Regions from separate parts of the Homo sapiens genome. Here region 2 is linked to region 1. Evidence: promoter capture Hi-C in 16 types of primary human blood cells and fetal thymus (Javierre and others, 2016). All regions are on one chromosome and are shown on one strand. Each heading gives the region's core, a stretch centred on a gene start or on the middle of the fragment in contact. The rest is flanking DNA. Distances are from core to core; before and after follow the strand shown.

Region 1 (6,579 bases), core at 2,341-4,840:
TTCTATAGTTCTAATTTTCCAAAGCACACATTACTTTTATAATCATAAAGACGTTAAAGCTAGAGTTAATAATTCGAAAGTCAATCTAAGGATAATGGGACTTCCCTATTCTCTAGGTAAGAGGGTCATGTTAGGTTATTTCAGATTGTGAGTGACCTGTACATTGTGCCACATCTAAGCAGATGCTATTGACATTTAAGGCATATAATAATGGACTAGAGATGTTTAGCCTTTCAGCTATGCATCAGGGCACAGAAACTCTTACATAAAGCCACCTGGCATTCACCCTCATGAACATACTTGGATCATCTCTCATACACACAATTACCAACACATATATGGAATAGCTGTGTCCTGTCCCTTCAGTTTCTTGGACATTCCCTGAAATTGCTTCTTTCCCTTGCTTATCTCTCTTTAGACACCTGATCCTATTTCAAACCTGGCACAGTTTCTTCATCTACAGGACTTGATTCATTCTCCCAAGGCCTCCTTTCTTAAGTGACTTGATTTTAACCAGGCATCCTTTGTCAATCGCCCTACCTGGAAAGACTCAGGCCAGAATGACAGAAGAACCTTCATTTTTTGCTCAAATGGAGTAGCATCTAAAGACAAATTGTTAAAAATGATGCAGACAATATCTTAACTAGTAATAAAACACCTATGTTAATACTAGGTGTTTTATATATTTCATATATATATGAAATAAGTAACAAAATAAAGATACATTTTGTTCTGGTATTGTAATAACAAGCTGATGAAAGAGCTTTCCAGGTTGAGGAAAAGGAATGAACCTTTCAGACAGAAGTGGAAAGAAAAATCAGTGAAGGAAGGGATGTATGTGGACGAGGATTTAGCTTGAGAAATAGCCCAAGAAAGAAACCTCCATCAAATTATTAGGAAAGGGCAAACTCTGTGAGGGGAATAGAAATAGAAAGGGACTTAATACAGAAAATTAGGTGTTGACAAAATCATTGAAAGAGCTAGAGGAGCACAAGTCAGGTGCCTCTGGAGCTATGGTGTTCAAGAGCATACAACCATAGCTCTTTTCTGGGTTAAAAGGAGCGCCTCTGCTAGCTCCTGCCTCTAATTTCCTCTCAATACCCATGAGGCTATCCATGACTCCGGAACACGAAGTGAGCGTGCCAAGTAGAAAAGACGGCAGGAAGATGGCCTCTGTCTCATTTCCAGCTAATTAGTTTTGGTTCTGTTCCTGTTTATATCATTGTTTTCATGGAAAAGTTCACCTTAAGTTCTAAATCATTAACTTAGAAACCAATCTTTCAAAAATATTCCATTTGTAATCTGGAGTCCTTGTATCCTTAAACCAACCAACAGGACAAACAAAAATCATCTCCCTAAATAAAAACTAAATAAAATGAGTCCTTGGGATATGTTCCATAGTTGTTAATTTCATTTCTTCCTCAAATATCTTTACACATGTAATACTATTTCTACCATCATTACATGGCAATGCATAATTTCATTTACAGAACTTGAAAAAAACTAGAAAACAAGGCTTTGTGATAACATTACCAAGAAACGTTTTATCAGAAAAGCTTGCTTTTTACAACAATGGGTTGGGTTGCACCAATTTTTTGCTTATTTTTGTCTTCTTGACTAATTCTTCTTTGGTGCTAATGTAGTAGGAAATGCCTATCTCCGGTGTGATTTTCAATTATTGTGTATGGGGGCTTAGAATACATTAATAAATCTTGAGGCAAAAACAGAATGATAAAAATAACACTTCAAAGGAGTACAGGAGAATGAACTTTCATGACATTCAATGAAGGAGGCAGGTATGCAAAGTGATATGTTTTCTAAGATGTACTTTTCATTTTTTGTTTTATCCTTTTACTTTGTACCATAAGCAATTTTGGAAAGACCACAACTATTAGTGATGTCTACATAATCATACTAATGAAGTACACAGAAGCTTAAATGAAGTATTTTTATATGCTCCCTTACAACTATTTGAAAATTTACTTTGGAAACCCCTGCTCAAATGCAACCCCTCCCCACCCCCAAAGGAATTCTTGTGCTGTCTTCTTCACTTTTCCAGTTAAGCAATTTAAGTTAGAGGAAATCAAGCCCTTGAGCAAATGAATAGTTAACGGGAAAAACCACTAGGAAGGGAATCCGAAGAACAAGCTACCAAATTATTTGCTTGAGTCACTTTCTCTTATATTGTCACAGATGAAAAATTACACTCCACGTGGTGATCAAACCTAACGCTAAGGCATATTTTGTGTGCCACACAGTATTACTCTGTTTCCTAAGTAACCTATTGAAACAATGTAAGGTATACATCTATTAATGCATTTAGTGATGATACTGGAATTTGTGAAACGTGACAGAAAGGACAGATGAAGAAAGATGAGGAGAGACAGGTATTAATTGTCCTAACAGTACAGGCTGTAATAAAGGCCAATAATCATTTGAATTCCTGCTCCTTAATGTGAGTCTAAAGAGCGGCTTACCTCAGGTATTTGGAAAGTCTAAATACTGTATTTGCTGTAGAAAATTCATCCAACATACAATTCAATTTTTAAAATTAAACCTTTTGCCTAATCTTTAAGATATTTGATGTTATAATGCCCATTATCACACTTTATTTAAATGAGATAAACTCAGAGAGTTTAAAAAATTACGCAACTTCTCTTTTCCCTTACTATGGCTGGCCTCTTATAACCGAAAGCAATATTCTTGCCTCTCCACTTTTTAACTGAAGCTTTGATCTCATCTGTATTTATGAAGAACGTGCTCTGGGAGAGTCCCTGTCAAGACATTCATTGTAACACCCGCTCCTACTCATGCTTTCAGCGCTGCCCGTGGACGGAATCCACCCACACCTTCCAGACACGCTAGGTGTGGGCTCGGAAACGCAAGATGGAGGGCGGGAGGGGAGCCGGCGTCTCCTAAACCTGGCGCAGGGCACGGACTCGAAGTTGAAAAAGAAGTGTTTACAAGTGAGGCTTTTAAATAAATCACCGCTATGGAGGGCATTTCCTCCGAGCCCTGGGCGCCAGCCTGAGAATCCTCTGCCGGACGCCAGGGGACGAACCACGCTGACCCCGCCAGACACGCGACCCCGGGGCCGGCGCTGGCGTCTGCACTCGCGCGACCCCGCCGCTCCTCCTGGGAGCGCCGTCTAACCGCTCCCGGCGACGACTTCCCAGAGCGCCGGGGAGCCAGTGCCCACGCGGGGCAGAGCTGCGGCGCGGCCCGCGGGCCGGGCCCCTTCCCTCCAACGCCGGGCGGGGCTCGCGGCCCCCGACCCGGCCGCTTCGCCGCCGCCCCTCCCCGCGCTCACCTGCTCGCTCTCCTTCGGCCGCTGTCCGCGCCGCCGCGGGCTCGCCCCGGGATCCCACCCGGTCCCTGCCGCCTCCCGCTCCGCCAGCGCGTCCCCGTCCTCGTCGCGTTCCCCGCCGTCGCCGCCCCGCAGCAGCTCCCCGGCTGAGCACATCCCGCAGCCAACTCCTACCGCCCCGGACAGCCGCCGGAGGACCACGCCGCGACGCACCAGGCAGCGCCGCCGCCCGAAGGCTGCCCTGGGATCCGCCGCACCCGCCGCTGACAGGAGCCGCCGGAGCGCGCCCCGCCGGCCTGGGCGCCTGAAGTACCAGCCCGGCCCCTCCTGTCACTGGCTCGCCCAACCCCCGGCCGTCGGGGCGGAGCCGTACAGGGGAGGGGCCAAGACAGGGGGCGGGGCCAACGGTGTGTTGGGGGGCGGGGGTGTGTGTGTGAGATTGAGAGAGAGGCCGACAGACTGAGAGAAGAAGGGTGTTGTGTGAAAAACTATGGACATACACTGCATGAGGGAGATTGTACATGAGAGAGGCTGTGTGTATGTATGAGGGATATTGTGTGTGCGTAAGAGACCGTTAGAGAGTGTGAGAGAGACGCTGAGCGTGATTTGTGTGTGTGTGTGAGAGAGATTCTATATAAAAGAAACTGCGTATAAGAGATTGTATGCACTTTGGGAGGCCGAGGCGGGCAGATAGCTTGAGCCCAGGAGTTGGAGACCAGCCTGGGCAACCCCATCTCTACTAAAAATAGAATTAGGCGGGCGTGGTGGCGGCAGTGTGGTCCCAGCTACTCAGGAGGCTGAGGTGGGAGGATCGTCTCAGCGCGGGAAGTCGAGGCTGCAGTGAGCAGAGATCACACCACTGCACTCCAGCGTGGGCGACAGAACCAGACCCCGTTTCAGAGAGAGAGAGAGAGAGAGAGAGGAGGGGGGGGGGAAAGAGAGAGAGAGAGAGAGAGAGAGAGAGATTGAGATTGTATGTGTATGCAAGAGACTGTGAGAGAGAGATTGTATGAGGGAACAACAGAAACTGAGAGAGATCAAGTGTGAAAGAGAAATTACTTGTGTGAGAGAGCCAGTGCATATATTTAAGAGAGAGCGCATTTGTATAAGAGATTAGTGTGTGTGGGTTTGTATGTGAGAGAGAAACACACACATGCACCCAGTTACACTCTCCAGCAGAGTACCCCTGTTCTTGCCTGAGTATCTGCCCGTCCTTTTCAAGGAAGACACATTTCACTGTCCCTCTTGTTCCTTTAGCCTCCTTTCCTAGTGTCTCACTGAAGGTCTGTGTATTTGTCCCTTTCTGTTGAGTGCTTCCTAGTGTGTGTTGTTTGTTGGAGCCTTGGGTCGTTTGATGGTGTATCAAATGATGTATCTTTCTGTAACTGGGTAAGAATATGTCTTTCTCAGTGGGTGGTGAGGGGAATATATCCAATTGATAATTATTTTTTGTACTACTCCATCCATTTTATTCAAGGAAAATGGAAGGGTGTTTAAATAAAATATCACTTTTTTTTCTGTGTATGCCTTATCTGTACATTGGGAAAACGATGGGTTATTGTACAGGTAAAATACAGAAAAGTAAATATGGAAAGTAAACATGTGTACACATGGAGAAGAGTAAGAGTTATTTGGGATCTTCTATTAAAATGTTTTCAGGCCCAGAGAAGGAATTAAAATAGGCAGAATCTCATAGGCTTATTTTAAAGAAGTTTCCTGTTTTTTGTAGTCAGGAGATTCTCAGTCTTTCTCACACACCCACAATCTCTCATACACACAATCTCTCTCATACACACATGATTTCACATACATACAGTCTCTCTCACACATATACAACCTCGCGCACACACCATCTCTCACACATGGTTTCTCACACATGCCCTCTCTGATTGTCTCTCCTCCACAAACAATCTCTCTAGGGGCCAGAAAATATGCCGTTGGATATCAAAAATTAGAAAGAAAATGAATCTGGTTCATTCCCTTTCTTAAAAGTCTTTAAAACTCCAGAAAAGAGTATTTAATATTATATACATACAATCAGAAACAAATATCACCATGGGAACCCAGTAGCCTTTCTGATGGGCCTCATTTTTTTTCCCCTGAAGGCAACATTTTCATTCTTGGAATTTTGGTTTGGCTATTAGTAGTGTTTCTTATAAAAACCAACTTTTTTTTTTTTTGGCTGGGCGTGGTGGCTCACGCCTGTAATCCCAGCACTTTGGGAGGCCGAGGCAGGCGAATCACAAGGTCAAGAGATGGAGACCATCCTGGCCAACATGGTGAAACCCCATCTCTACTACAAATACAAAAACTAGCTGGGTGTGGTGGCACATGCCTGTAGTCCCAGCTACTAGGGAGGCTGAGGCAGGAGAATCAGTTGAACCCGGGAGGCAGAGGTTGCAGTGAGCCAAGATCACGCCACTACACTCCAGCCTGGTGACAGAGCAAGACTCCGTCTCAAAAAAATAAAAAAATAAAAATCAACTTTTTTGGATAAAACTTTGGAATTATATACAGCAACCCAGAGAACATCAGCTCTTTACTGCCAACCCCATGAACTAAGGCACATTTTGAAGTTCTCCCTCATAGCGTTTGATTGGCAACTTGATAAGCCAAACAACTATGCACTCTTCAATCAGGCTACAGTGAGCAGAAATTCCTTATATATAAGAGGACTCAGAAGGCACAGAGTATTTATATAGCTGGGCAGGTACAATACAGAGGTTAGCTTTGTTCAGCTTAGGGGACAAGTCTTACAAAATTCCTTTAGAGTATACTGTCTGGTCTTTTGTAGATTCCGGCTTCTTGAGTCTTTGAGAAGTGTATTAATTCAGTTTTTTAGTAGGTATTTATTGAACGCTACTAGGCTTTAGGCCCAGGTCTAGGTCCCTATTCTCTTATTGAACACTACTAGGCGTTTGGCCCAGGTCTAGGTCCCTATTCTCATGAAGCTTCATTTTAATCCAATTCTTGTGTTATTTTCTTGGCAGAAACCAAGAACTTTTACCGAAGAGTAGCCAGAATCCTTGGATCTCCACCTAGGACTGAAGGCAGAACCTTTTTTTTTTTTCTTAATATCATTTACCTTTAATTTAGTGAGTGAGTTTTTCTTTAAGCTGTTATTCTTTTGTTCATAGAGTCTGATTTTTCCTGGAGATCTGGAGAACCACCTCTTTAAATAAATCTAGCATTTTACACAAAAGACATTAAACAGATTACAGCCTAATCTTATGGGAGGAGAGGGCTGTTTTCACTCTGCTGCACAATGTGAA
Region 2 (6,579 bases), core at 1,464-3,963, 2.0 Mb after region 1:
AGAACTGTGAGAATGGCCAGGAGTAGTATTTTGCCAGTATGCTGCCTTTGCTAACTAGCATCATTTAAGAGGACCTAAAATAAGAATACTTTATTAAACATACGCTATAATCCATACTTACTAACCATAGCGCAAATTAATGTTAACATACCCTATAATCCATACTTACTAACCATAGCACGTGTTAATGGAATGGGGCCCGACTTTTGGAGTAGCATTTGTATAAACCCTAAAGGGTTCAACTGAGGCTAGTTTTCAAGTTTATTGCTGCTTTAATGAATCATTAACCTCATACTCATTGGCCTAGCCATGAAAGTAAATACTGCAGACTTTTTTTACTTTGCTAGCAAAAAGTTTCATATATAATAGGTTAGAATAGCAATTGAAATGCAAAGTAATAAGTGTATTCCCTTGTAGAATCATCCTGGGCCTCATCTTGAAACTACATGTCCAGTGAAAAATATCCTGTCTGGTTATATTATCTGGTCAATGAGAGTTTATTACATGAGGTAGAGAAAAATGTCTGCTCATAGGTCCAAATAGGAGTTTTGAATTCTAATTTTCACTGAAAAGTCCTTGCAATTTTACAACATTGAAAATAGAGACATTTTGCTCTTTTATGAGATGTCTGGCCTTTACCTGTTTTTCTCACTAAGAGCTGACTTAAGTTGGAAGTGCTGCTAGCCAGGGAGCAAAATCACCTGGTGATTGCTAAGGCGACATATAATTCATTGAGTGAGAAGGGAAGCTGGGCTCTCTCTGCCTTCTCTTTCAGCAGCCTGCCAGGTTTGTGCTAACAGCAGTGGATGCTAGTTGCTCCAGTTGTAATTGTCTAGCCAATGATGATTATCTTCTGATGTCGGCTGACACGGTGCCCACCAATAGGAAAGCAGGAGGCCTGTGCTGACTGCTGTAACATTATGTATGTGAGGTGACGTCTTCAAAGGGCTTGCCTAGAACTTCATGAAACCCTCCCCCTCTCCTGGCATTCTCCACACATCCAGCCTTTCAAAGCTTTATATATTTTTCTGACTTTTCTCCCCACTCACTCCCTTGGTGGTGTAAAAGGGTTTACTTGTTTTAACATTTTGTATTCTGTATTATAGAGTCTATAAGATAGTATAGGAATTTTAAGAATTAAATGCTGTTCAGCTGAGGAAGCCTTTTTATTCACAAATTTGTTTTTACCAAAGGTAAAAATGGAGTGAAACATTTTATTTTATTTTGTTTTATTTTTGAGACAGGGTCTCACTCTGTTGCCCAGGCTGGAGTGCAGTGGCACAATCTTGGCTCACTGCAACCTCTGCCTCCGGGTTCCAGTGATTCTTATGTCTCAACCTCCCAAGCAGCTGGGATTACAGGTGCCTGCCATGACACCAAGCTAATTTTTGTATTTTTAGTAGAGATGGGAATTCACCGTGTTGGTCAGGTTGGTCTTGAACTCCTGACCTCAAGTAATCCGCCCACCTCGGCCTCCGAAAGTGCTGAGATAACAGGCTTGAGCCACTGCAACCGGCCGTGAAACATTTTAAAAGGAGTTGTACATCTATATCTTTTTTGTAGGTGAAGTTTGGAAAGTAACACGATGTACAATTTCATGATTAAAGAACATAAAAAGCACTAAAAACCTGTGTTAGCATTTAACTCAAATATAGCAGCATAAAAAATATAGCAGCATAATGTTAATGAAACTGTTCAAATGCAGACATAGTATTTGGCTGTTGTTTTTCATTTAGTGAGGATTGCTTTGAATTGCTTCCTGAAGTCTTCCTTGCAACCTTCTACATTCATTTGTAAGAAAAATGGCTGGAAAACAGTGCATCTGTGACTATGGAACAGAGTAGGCCAGAGTTTCATTTCATCATTAACATTGCAGCAACAAATTTGGTCAGCTCTGTAGGAATATAGTGTGTCTATATTGTACTCATGTCACTTGCTGTTTATTTTGAGGTATCACAGTTCATATTGATTTAGGATTAAAACTTGTGTGAGGATCATAACATGACATTCAATAATTTTTAGAAAGCACTGGGATGTAGGCATATGTACTAGGTTAAGAGTGAGAAGAATGAGAAAATACATAGAGAAAAAACGTGTAATCTGTGTGGGGTCCTAGAAAATAATGTAAAGTTGTGCTGGAGCTTTGATATGAACTTTCATGTATCTTTTAATAAATTATAAATATTCATGCAATTCTTGTTTAGGATTCCAAAGGATGAAAGCCAGCTTAATGCAAAATATTTTATGATTATATTATCCATCTGTGTATTTGTACTAGTTATAATTAGTGCTTAAAATTTTTTCATGAAGTCTTTTTCACATTGGAAGTAAAATTTTGTGATCTTCAGAGGATTGCCTGTTGCTTTTTTGTTTGAGGGTGATTCTAAATGTGTCAAAGTGTATAACATTGGAACTTAATGAAACTTTTCAAATGCAGACATAGTATTTCACTGTTGTTTTTCCTTTAGTGAGGATTGCTTTAAATTTCTTCCTGAAATCTTCCTCGTAACCTTCTGCGTGCATTTGTAAGAAAAATGGCTGGAAACTTCAAAGTCAACTTATTCCATATCTAAGAGTTGCCTTATATACTTCCTTGAAAGAAGAATCTTTCTTTTTCTTTTTTTTCTTTCTTTCTTTTTTTTTTTTTTCTTGGATGGAGTTTTGCCCTTGTTGCCCAGGCTGGAGTGCAATTGTTCCATCTCGGCTTACTGCAACCTCTGCCTCCTGGGTTCAAGTGATTCTCCTACCTCAACCTCCTGAGTAGCTGGGTTTACAGGCATGCGCCACTACACCCGGCTGATTTTTTTGTATTTAGTAGAAACGAGTTTTCACCATGTTAGTCAGGCTGGTCTCGAACTCCTGACTTCAGGTGATCCACCTACCTCGGCCTCCCAAAGTGCTGGGATTACAGGTGTGAGCCACCATGCCCGGCCAGAGGAATCTTTCAGCTTAGATAGTGGAAGAGTTATGAGGGGGACGGAGGTTTTGAAATACTTAGGGGGATATACAATAACCATCTAATCAATTTTCTTTTTCTTTTCTTTTTTTTGAGCCTGGTCTTGGCTCACTGCAACCTCTGCTTCCTGGGTTCAAGCCTCAGCCTCCTGAGTAGGTGGGATTACAGGTGCCCGGCCCCCCATCTAATCAGTCTTTAGACAACAAAGTAAAATGAGTGTGGCACCATTCTGGCAATTCAGGAATTTATCTTGGCTTAAGTGATCTGAAATATTTCAGGTCCAAGTATTTTATTTTCTGAAATGAGTTAACCAAACATTGTCTTAATGATTAACTTAATTTTTCACATATGGACACAGGTGAGCCAAACTGTCCTTTATTAATAGGAACCAGACATCATTCTACAAAGTTTGCCTCAGCCCTCCCTTTACTCTTTATGTAGCTCACATCCACCCGCTCCCATTTACTTCTCATTTATCTTTTTTAGGAGGGTTTAGGGAAAGTTACCTGTACCACATATGTCATTTCTGTTGATAACCCTAGGTAATCTGAGTGAAACTATGACTTGGCTATATTGTAATGTTAAAACTCATAACTTCATTCCTTTATCCAGATTCTGATTGTACATGTATTCAGGCAGGTACAAATGTTGGCATAGTTATTGAGGTTTCTGAGAACTTTAAAAAAACCCAGCATCTCTAATTATATTTACCCTCCAATAATTTATTTTAGAGATACATGGGTCCTTTTTTAAAAAGTATTGTATGGGTCGGGTATGGTGGCTCACACCTGTAATCCCAGCACTTTGGGAGGCCGAGGCAGGCGGATCACTTGATGTCAGGAGTTCGAGACCAGCCTGGTCAAAGTGGCGAAACCCTGTCTCTACAAAAAATACAAAAATTAGCTGGTCATGGTGGTACGCACCTGTAGTCCCAGCTACTCTGGATGCTGAGACACAAGAATGGCATGAACCTGGAGGCGGAGGTTGCAGTGAGCTGAGATTATGCCACTGCAATGCAGCTTGGGCAACAGAGCAAAACTGTGTCTCAAAAAAAACACAAAAATTGAAAAAAAAAAAAGTGGCCGGGCATGGTGGCTTATACTTGTAATCCCAGCGCTGTGGGAGGCTGAGGTGGGTGGATCACTTGAGGTCAGGAGTTCGAGACCAGCCTGGCCAACATGGTGAAACCCTATTTCTACTAAAACTACAAAAATTAGCCGGGCGTGGTGGCGGGCGCCTGTAATCCCAGCTACTCCAGGGGCTGAGGCAGGAGAATCGCTTGAACCCAGGAGGCCGAGGTTCCAGTGAGGCGAGATTGCACCATTGCACTCCAGCCTGGGCAACAGAGTGAGACTCCGTCTCAAAACAAAACAAAACAAAAAAAGTATTGCCCAAGAGTAAAGAATATGAATTTGTAATTTTAAGTTGGTTGTGCAATAGTTATCCCAAAGCTTGGAACCATGTCAGTCATCTAAGGTCAAGCCTACACATTTATCATGATTCCTTTCTGCATTGAGTGTTTGCGACTTTTAGTTTTAAGGTTCCTATTACTAGGAAACCCTTTGCTGAGTTAGTTGCCCACTGTGAACTTACTGAGATTTAACTTTAAGTCTTTACTTTGTACAAAAAAAAAGTACAGGAGAAAAAAGACTTACACTTACCTTTGCTAAGATAAATTTGCTGAGATAAATTAGACATGCTGATTGTAAGTAGTTTTGCTAGAAAATCACTCATAGTTTTGTAATACTTTTATTTACAGGGATTCATATTTCAGTTTTTTTTTTCTTGCTAAAACTTTTATAGAAGAGTTCCTAGTTGTGATATAAGGAAAGTTTTATTGATGAAATATATTTTGGGGAGGGAGATCTACCTCCTCAAAACACACATGAGGTTTATAATCCAATTTTTTTTTTTTTTTGAGATGGAGTCTGGCTCTGTCGCCCAGGCTGGAGTGCAGTGGCATGATCTCGGCTCAGTGCAAGCTCTGCCTCCCGGGTTCACACCATTCTCCTGCCTCAGCCTCCCGAGTAGCTGGGACTACAGGCGCCCACAATCACACCTGGCTAATTTTTCTATTTTTAGTAGAGACGGGGTTTCACTGTGTTAGCCAGGATGGTCTCGATCTCCTGACCTTGTGATCTGCCCACCTCGGCCTCCCAAAGTGCTGGGATTACAGGTGTGAGCCACTGCGCCAAGCCCTATAATCCTATTTAAAGTGAAACAAGTAAACAAGTATAACTTCATTTTCTTCTTTTCTCTCTCTCTCTCTCTTTTTTTTTTTTTTTTTTTTTTGAGACAGAGTCTTGCTGTGTCTCCCAGTCTGAGTGCAGTGGCATGATCTTGGCTGTTAGTTCACTGCAACTCCCACCTTCTGGGTTCAAGCAGTTCCCCTGCCTCAGCCTTCTGAGTAGCTGGGATTACAGGCACCTGCCACCACACCTGCCTAATTTTTGTATTTTTAGCAGAGACGGGGTTTCACCATGTTGGCCAGGCTGGTCTCGAACTCCTGGCCTCAAGTGATCCGCCCACCTCGGCCTCCCAAAGTTTTGGGACTACAGGCGTGAGCCACTGCGTCTAGCCTCTCTCTCTCTTTTTTAAATAGAGACAGGGTCTTGCTTGTCACCCAGGCTGGAGTGCAGTGTCACAATCATACTTCACTGTAATCTCAAACTCCGCTTCTTGGTCCAAGCGATCTTCTTGCCTCAGCCTCCCAAGTAGCTGGGATTACAGGCACGCACCACCTTGCCCAACTAATTTTTTTATTGTATTGGAGAGATGGGGGTCTTGCTATGTTGCCCAGGCTGGTTTTGAACTGTTGGCCTCAAGTGATCCTCCCATCTCAGCTTCCCAAAGTGCTAGGATTACAGGTGTAAACCACCACACCTAGACAGCAGGGTAGATTTTCTTCATTCAGGAGCAATGATACTAACAGTTAATACATGGTTACCTGATTGCAGGCATCCTTTTATAATGTTTTACTTTTTTTTTTTTTTTTGAGACCGAGTTTCACTCTTGTTGCCCAGTGGAGTGCAATGGCATGATCTCGACTCACCGCAACCTCTGCCTCCCAGGTTCAAGCAACTCTCCGCCTCAGCCTCTTGAGTAGCTGGGATTACAGGCATACGCCACCATGCCTGGCTAATTTTTTTTGTATATTTAGTAGAGATGGGGTTTCTTCCATGTTGGTCAGGCTGGTCTCGAACTCCTAACCTCAGGTGATCCTCCCACCTCGGCCTCCCAAAGTGCTGGGATAACAGTCATGAGCCACCGCGCCTGGCCAATGTTTTACGTACTTTAACTGTTAAACCCTTGCAGCCACCCTTTATGATCTTTTGCACGATGGACAACTCAGGAAGGGGAGTTGGGATTTGCATGTAGGAATCAGAAAAGGAAAACTGGGTTCCAGGCTTGAATAAGGCTTGGATGGCTGGTGTGATGATGAGGGGTGTGTCACAAGGCCCCAATCATCCTCTTATTTGAATATTAATATAATATTCAATCAGAAAAACAATGCACTTGAAAACTTGGCTGCACTGGAAACGTGTCAGGTATCTGTGGTTTTAGTCAATGATCTCACAAATGTCTCTTTTGTTAATAATTTTCACTGGGTGGATCCTGAATAC

Evidence for each region. Contacts are between HindIII fragments. The CHiCAGO score rates a contact against its expected background, and 5 or more counts as called.
Region 2: a fragment that was not itself captured here is called in contact with the fragment with the promoter of FAM241A in region 1 in 1 of 17 cell types (fetal thymus); the score reaches 6.8 in fetal thymus.

The regions. Positions count from the first base shown.
Region 1 is chr4:112,142,465-112,149,043 of GRCh38, reverse strand. FAM241A (family with sequence similarity 241 member A) reads right to left here and starts at 3,590. Exons shown (of 2, transcript NM_152400.3): 1 at 3,311-3,590. The coding sequence starts at 3,463. RefSeq lists an enhancer at 2,680-2,819 and a silencer at 3,160-3,809. The HindIII fragment of the contact is 3,530 bases long and covers 2,731-6,260 here.
Region 2 is chr4:110,188,262-110,194,840 of GRCh38, reverse strand. The region is part of intron 1 of ELOVL6 (ELOVL fatty acid elongase 6); the gene reads left to right. Among named protein-coding and RNA genes, the nearest start is that of ELOVL6, 7.1 kb to the left of the region's middle. The HindIII fragment of the contact is 3,393 bases long and covers 1,017-4,409 here.